Regions from separate parts of the Homo sapiens genome. Here region 2 is linked to region 1. The links are contacts of gene promoters, found by promoter capture Hi-C in blood cells and fetal thymus (Javierre and others, 2016). All regions are on one chromosome and are shown on one strand. The core of a region is centred on a gene start or on the middle of the fragment in contact, and the rest is flanking DNA. Distances in the headings are between cores, read along the strand shown. Region 1 holds the start of CNKSR3 (CNKSR family member 3). Region 2 has its middle 76 kb from the start of SCAF8.

Region 1 (3,700 bases), core at 341-2,840:
AATCACTATATTTGATAGTTGTGTGTCTCTGTGTTGCCCAGTCCTCTAGGGGAGTTGAATGGGAGGTGGGTCTGATGTTTTGCTTTTTAAAAATGTTTCTTTTGCTTGGATGCTCCAGCTCATCAGATGCTAGGCTGGCTGCTAGCTATTTTTCCACATGTGCGTCCAAACAGACCTGTGTAAGTAGCACATATCACACGAATTCAACAAATACTGAATGAATACAGTGGCTGGCACATAGGAAGCATTCCCGGATATTTACTGAATGAATAAATACCAACCTTGCCTTTGGTCCCGTGCTGGGTGCTACAAGTTAGGTGGTAGGAAGAAAGGGAGGAGAGAAAACTCTATATGAGATCAAGTAGGTTCTGCCCTCAAGGGGTTAATAGTCTCCAAGAGGAAGATGTAAATAAATAACCGTAATTGAAAGTAAGAATCATTCAGTGCCAAAAAGAGTGGGAGGAAGAGGTTGCTGGGCGGGGCGGGGCGGGGGTGGGGGGTTGGGGGGGGTGTTGGGGGGTGAGGGGAGGGGTGGTGGCGAGGGTGGCAGGGGTTGGGGGGGCGGTTAGGATGCAGGGAGAACTTGAAGGAGAGGCAGGCATTCAAATTAGATTTTCCCCCAGTTTAGCATTAACTCTGGCCCCAGTTGCAGTCCATGAATGTGGAAGGGCCCTCCCCTGCCAGGCGCTGAAATTGTGCACGAGCTATTTTTTTTTTCTTGGCTAACAGCTTTCCTCTCACGGTTAATGACTAATCCCAAGGAGCATTAGCTCACTCTGTAAATATGAAATTATAATATAGCAAAATATAACGCTAAAAGCCATCAATCTAATTTTAGTCGCAAAGTTGAAATTTCATAGCAATAGCATTAAAAGAGTTACATTGTTACGATTTCAGTCAACATATAAATGAAATAAAATTGTTCTGGCCTGGCGCGGTGGCTCAGGCCTGTAATCCTAGCACTTCGGGAGGCCGAGGCTGGCGGATCACCTGAGTTCAGGATTTCGAGACCAGTCTGGCCAACATGGTGAAACCCTGTCTCTACTAAAAATACAAAAATTAGCCGGGCGTAGTGGCAGACGCCTGTAATCCCAGCTACTCCGGAGGCTGAGGCGGGAGAATCGCTGGAACCTGGGAGGCAGAGGCTGCAGTGAGCTGAGATCGCGCCACTGCACTCCAGCCTGGGCGACAGAGCGAGGCTCCATCTAAAAAAAAAAATTGTTCTACTTTAAGAAACCTAAAATGACGGCTTAATGGCAGAGTAGTATTACGATATAAAGCATTTAAAATGAACAGAACATGCAGATCTTACTTTTTTTTTTCTTTTCTTTTTTTTTTAGTGTATTGTTGCTCACAGCGAGACAGAGTGTTCTGCTACCCACAGGGCCAGGGCCTCACACAAACCAGCGGGCTCTCCAGGGTGCGCGCGCGATCTACAACCCGCCCCTTGAAAAGGAAAGCGGGGCCCGGGACGCTGCGGGTGTGAGCCGGACCGGCTTAGAGAGGGAAAGTAACCCGAGTCCGCCGCTTCGGGCGGACCCGCCCCCTCCCACGAGTTTCCCTAGACCCTCGGCCCCGCCCTCTCTTTTATTCGGTTTGCAGCAACCGGAGCTGAAACTTTGCAACCCGAGCGCGCACGCTCTGCGCTCGGCCCTGCCAGGGCGGCACGGGAGGGCGGCGCAGGAGGTGGGACCTGCGCCGGGAAGGCTCCGGGACGCCAGCGCACGCGGAGCGGGGACCCCGGAGAGCCAGCAGGCGAGAAGACCGGCCGAGGGAGAGCCGATCGCGCCTCGAGAGATCCGAGGAAGTGGTCGCGGGCCGGGAGGCTCCCGTGCCGAGCCGAGGCCAGGGGTCTGGGGTCGCAGCCCGGCGTGCCTGCAGCTGCCGTCGCTCGGGAGCAGCAGCTGTGCCCGGGATCCCGGCGGCGGCGGGGGAAGGAGGAGCTGCAGCTGGACTGTGGCAGCTGGAGGGAGAGGGCCGGGCTCCCCTGGCGGAGCCGCGCTGGGACGACTGGCTGACCGCGGCCATGCAGTCTTGACGGAGTCGCTCGGGCGCAGGGGAGCAGCCGCGGGCGCGCCCTCCCGGGAAGGGGCACCGGAGCGCAGGCAGCAGCACTTTATCTGCGACTCTCCAGCCCAGCGAGAGGCGAAGCGGTTTACCATGGAACCCGTGACCAAGTGGAGCCCCAAACAAGTGGTGGACTGGACTAGAGGTGCGCGGGCCTTGGGGGGGTCCGGAGTCCTCCAGCCTCGGGGATGGGGCGGACGAGGAGCTGGGGAAGAGGGTACTTGGCCCTTCCTCCCGGCGAGAAGCGGTGAGGGCACAGCCCGGTGACAATGCAAACTTCTGCCGAGTGGCCTGTGCGCTCCTATCTCTCGTACCTGCTCCGAGCTCTTCCTTTCCAGGGTGCGGATTGTGGCAAGCCGAGGGGAGCCCTATCTTTAAACCAGGGAGTAGGGGTGGCCTTTCTGTGGCGGTTGAGGGCTGGGGATGCCGATCTCGGGACTCGGCACTCGGGCCGGGGGGCGCTCTCCCTGCCTGGCCCCGGTGCGGTGCCCGGCGACCCGGGGGCCCGAGTGCAGAGGCACAAGGTGCCTTTGTGTGGGTGACTCCCGCGGGACCTCGTCCATGCCGCCTGCCCAGAGCCGTCCGCAGGCGTGACAGGGCTGTCGGACAGGTAGAGGGAGACTCCGGCGGGTCCGCCGAGCCTGTCTGTTTTTGTTGGAGAAGGCGAGAGGGCCGCGCAAAAGCCAACACCATAGCATTTGCGCCAGGGAGAAACCTCGAGCCAGGACTCCCCGGGAGGCAGTGACTTTTGCTCCGGGAGGCGCCAGTATCCCCGGTGGCGCTGCATTTTCAGGCCACATGTAAGCACTGGGAAGGAGAAATATAATTGTTTGGAACCACTGTCTTGATTCATACAATATTTGGGATGAGGAAGGCAGTGGGGCTGGGGCGGTGGGGGGGTGGTGGGGGGAATGAGCAGAGGTAGAAGCTTGTCCTCCTAGCTGGCTCGCTTACTTTTCAATGTCTCCTACGATTTCGAGGGAAAGGTACTAGAGTTTACTCAACCCTTTTCTGTACTTTCAAGAGAACAAAGTCCACCAAGAACAATCTGTATTTTCATGGTTTCCCCCCACCCCCAACGACATCTCTGTTTCAAGTTACTATTTGTTTTTCTATCTGCTCTTCCAGGTGAGGAATGGTGTTCTTTCTCAGTAATAACTAGAATTGTGTAGCGCTTTACAGTTTGCTAAGAGCTCTCTCTGTTATTGTCCTTGGTCATCACAGTAAGCCTGTGAGGTAGGTAATACTGGTAAGACCAGGTCGTCTTTCAAACCGTCCCACCCATGGCTGCAGCATAATGAAAACTGATCACCGCTACATCTCATTTCTCACGCCTGTGACTTACACATAGACCACGTGGAATAGGATGTCCGAGGTGTGTGGGGTGTGTCAGTGGGTATGTCTGACCATTTCCTGCTCCTCTGGGAGAACTCCTTGAGAACGGGTTTGTCAAGTGAGCAGAATTTCCTGGACTCCTATATAAAATGAAGCTAAAAACAACACATGTTTCTGCCTTGGTGACTAGGTTTCCCTTGGTAAAGAGTAAGTGGCATTGCCAGTACTTGGTAGGAAGCATGAGCTTAAAAGCCATCCATGCCCACGCTAGCTTGAAATGAGGTGTGTTCCTCCATTC
Region 2 (3,700 bases), core at 316-2,815, 150 kb before region 1:
GCGGTGGCTCACGCCTGTAATCCCAGCACTGTGGGAGGCCGAGGCAGGTGGATCACAGGGTCAGGAGTTTGAGACCAGTTTGACCAACCTGGTAAAACCCCATCTCTACTAAAAATCCAAAAATTAGCCAGGCATGGTGGCGCGTGCCGGTAATCCCAGCTACTCAGGAGGCTGAAGCAATAGAATCGCTTGAACCCGGGAGGCGGAAGGTTGCAGTGGGCTGAGATCGGGCCACTGGACTCCAGCCTGGGCGATAGAGTGAGTCTCCATCTCAAAAAAAAAAAAAAAATGATGGTAAAGGACAACCTTGTCTTTTTTCCTGTTTTCAGCAGAAATCCTTTTAGTGTTTTCCTCTGAAGGCTGATCTTGGCTTGTTGGTTGAGCTGGACAGTGTCTTGTTGAGGAAGCATCCACCTAGACATGTTTATTTTCTATTTTATTAGACTTATGTGTTTTGTGCAGGCAACAAAAGTAAAAATAGACAAGTGGGACTACATCAAACTGAAAAGCTTCTTCTGCACAGCAAAGGAAACAATGAGCAGAGTGAAAAGGCAACCTACAGAATGAGCGATAATATTTTCAAGGTATATATCTGACATGAGGTTAATATATAAAATATGTAAAGGACTCCTACAACTCAATAGGGAAAATAACAACAACAACAAACAAATAACCTGACTGAAAAATGAGCAAAGGACCTGAATAGACATTTCTTTTTTTTTTTTTTTTTTTTGAGACGGAGTGTCGCTCTGTCCCCCAGGCTGGAGTGCAATGGCATGATCTTAGCTCACTGCAAGCTCCGCCTCCCGGGTTCACGCCATTCTCCTGCCTCAGCCTCCCTAGTAGCTGGGACTACAGGCGCCCACCACCATGCCCAGCTATTTTTTTTTTTTTTTATATTTTTAGTAGAGACGAGGTTTCACCATGTTAGCCAGGATGGTCTCGATCTCCTGACCTCGTGATACACCCACCTCAGCCTCCCAAAGTGCTAGGATTACAGGCATGAGCCACCGCGCCCGGTCCTGAATAGACATTTCTCAAAAGAAGACATACAAATGGCGAACGGGTGTATAAAATAATGCTCAACATTACTAGTCATCAGGAAAATGCAAATAAAAACCACAATGAGATATCACTTCACATTTGCTAGGGAGACTATTATTGAAAAAGAAAAAAAGGATCACACGTGTTGGTGAGGATGTGGAGAAACAGGAGACCTTGCACACTGTCGGCAGGAATGTAAAATAGTGCATCTGCTATGAAAACCTTATAGAGGTTCTTCAAAAAATTGAAAATAGAACTATTATATGATCTAGCAACCCCACTACTAGGTTTTTATCCAAAAGAATTAAAAATCAAGATCTCGAAGAGATATTAGCTCTCCCATGTTTACTGCAGCACTATTTACAATAACAAAGAGGTACAAACAACCTAAATGTCTGTTGATGTATGAGTGGATTAGGAAAATGTGGCATGTACATACAGCGGAGTATTATTCAGCCTTAAAAAAGAAAATCCTGCCATATGTGACAACATGGATGAACTTTGAGGACATTGTGCCGAGGGAAAGAAGCCAGTCAAAGAGGGACAAATACTGCATGATTCCACTTATCTGAGGTATCTACAGTAGTCAAATTCATGGAAGCAGAGAGGAGAATGGTCATTGCCAGCTGCCAGGGGGTAGGGGAAAGGGAAAATGGGATTTGCTGTTCAACAGGTATAACTTTCAGTTCTAGAGATCTGTACAACATTGAGCCTCTGCTTAACAATATTGTGCACTTAAAGTTTTGTTAGGAGGGTAGATGCCATGTTAAGTTTTCTTACTAAGGTAAAAAAAAGTAATAGAACAAAGCGTATGCACTGAGCGTAGGGTACCACCCAGGCTGGATAGTTGTATGGACCAGCACAGCACTCCAGGGGCATTTGGTAAGTTCATGGAGACAGAGAAGTGCCCTGCACACCCCCTTCAGGCCCTCATCCCAGTTTTTCATGAGACAATATTTGCGTGAAAGTCCTATCTGTTACATGCTTAATGTAGTCAAGAGACTGAAACAAATTGCAGCTGCCTTCCTAAAAGTAGTAGAAAGATAGTTGCAAAAAGGGCTGTAGCCACTTTAAGAAAAGGTAGTTTTTTAAATCCTATTCCACAGAATTATCACCATCATCATCATCATCATCATCATCATCATCATCACTGTGCCTGTGCCTGTGGGGAATGAGGAATATTTATCTAGTTTTAAAATTTTTTTTTGGAGACAGGGTCTCACTCTGGTGCCCAGGCTGGAGTGAATCATAGCTCACTGCAGCTTCAACCTCCTGGGTTCAAGACAGCTCCCGCCTCAGCCTCCTGAGTAGCTGGGACTACAGGCACACACCACCATGCCTGGCTAATTTTTCAGTTTTTTTGATGGGATCTCACTGTGCTGCTCAAGCTGGTCTCCTGGGCTCAAGTGATTCTCCCACCTCAGCCTCCCAAAGTATTGGGATTATAGGTGTGTATTAGTCAGGGTTCTCTAAGGTGATGCAACTAATAGGATCTATCTCTCTATACATAAAGGGGAGGCTGTTAAGTATTAACTTACAGGATCACACGATCCCACAATAGGCCGTCTGCAAGCTTGAGGAGCAAGGGGAGCCAGTTCGAGTCCCAAAACCAGAGTACTTGGAGTCTGATGTTCAAGGGCAGGAAGCGTCCAGCACGGGAGAAAGATGTAGGCTGGGAGGCTAGGCCAGTCTCTCCTTTTCACGTTTTTCTGCCTGCTTTATATTTGCTGGCAGCTGATTAGATGGTGCCCACCAGATTAAGGGTGGGTCTGCCTTCCTCAGCCCACTGACTCAAATGTTAATCTCTTTTGGCAACACTCCCACAGACACAGCCAGGATCAATATTTTGCATCCTTCAGTCCAATCAAGTTGACAATCAGTATTAACCATCACAAGGTGTGAGCCACCAGGCCTAGACAATTTATCTACTTTCTAAAGCAGCAGCAGCAGCAGCAGCAGCAGTTCTGATTCTGGAGAAAGTTACAAATTAGGCAAAAACATTGTTTTGTTTTGCTTTGGGGCCCTCTCACCTTCCCTCTTCTTAGTCCTGGGGTACTTTCTCCTTCTACCCATCATCACCTCTCTTGTTCTGCTCTCCCTGGAGAATTTATTCATTTATTTGTTCATTCATGTAAGAGACATTTATCGATTACTTTCTATGCCAGGCATAAGAAATACAAAAATAAATAAGATATAGTCCTTACTCTCCAGGATGGTCTAAATAAGTGAGATTATGAGAGCAAGCAAAAAATCTTAAGAGAGAAACCTTTGCCAAAAGCATTCCATCCTTCAGTGGTTAAAGACCACCAATATTCTGGATAAAAGCCGAAAGTTAATTAATTTCACCACAGAGGCATCCAATTTCCCAGATGGTAAGCGCTGAAGCTGTTACTCAACTCTGGAGTATTTACACTATTACACTCTGAAAAGTAAGGAGGGAAAATAATATGTAACGAATTCCTATTGTCTCACTGATTTCACATATATCCACCCCTGTCCCCCACCCTTTTTCTTTTCTTTTCTTTTCGTTTTTTTTTTGAGACGGAGTCTCGCTCTGTTGCCCAAGCTGGAGCGCAGTGGTGCGATCTCGGCTCACTGCAAGCTCCGCCTCCCGGGTTCAGGTGATTCTCCTGTCTCACCCTCCCGAGTAGCTGGG

Evidence for each region. Contacts are between HindIII fragments. The CHiCAGO score rates a contact against its expected background, and 5 or more counts as called.
Region 2: a fragment that was not itself captured here is called in contact with the fragment with the promoter of CNKSR3 in region 1 in 3 of 17 cell types (endothelial precursors, erythroblasts and M2 macrophages); the score reaches 8.1 in endothelial precursors.

Annotation. Positions count from the first base shown.
Region 1 is chr6:154,508,575-154,512,274 of GRCh38, reverse strand. CNKSR3 (CNKSR family member 3) reads left to right here and starts at 1,590. Exons shown (of 13, transcript NM_173515.4): 1 at 1,590-2,212. The coding sequence starts at 2,161. It overlaps LOC101928868 (a long non-coding RNA gene), which reads right to left and starts at 1,484. Exons shown (of 2, transcript XR_001744422.2): 1 at 1,313-1,484. The HindIII fragment of the contact is 4,325 bases long and covers 1-2,997 here.
Region 2 is chr6:154,655,329-154,659,028 of GRCh38, reverse strand. No RefSeq gene overlaps it. Among named protein-coding and RNA genes, the nearest start is that of SCAF8, 76 kb to the left of the region's middle. The HindIII fragment of the contact is 2,108 bases long and covers 512-2,619 here.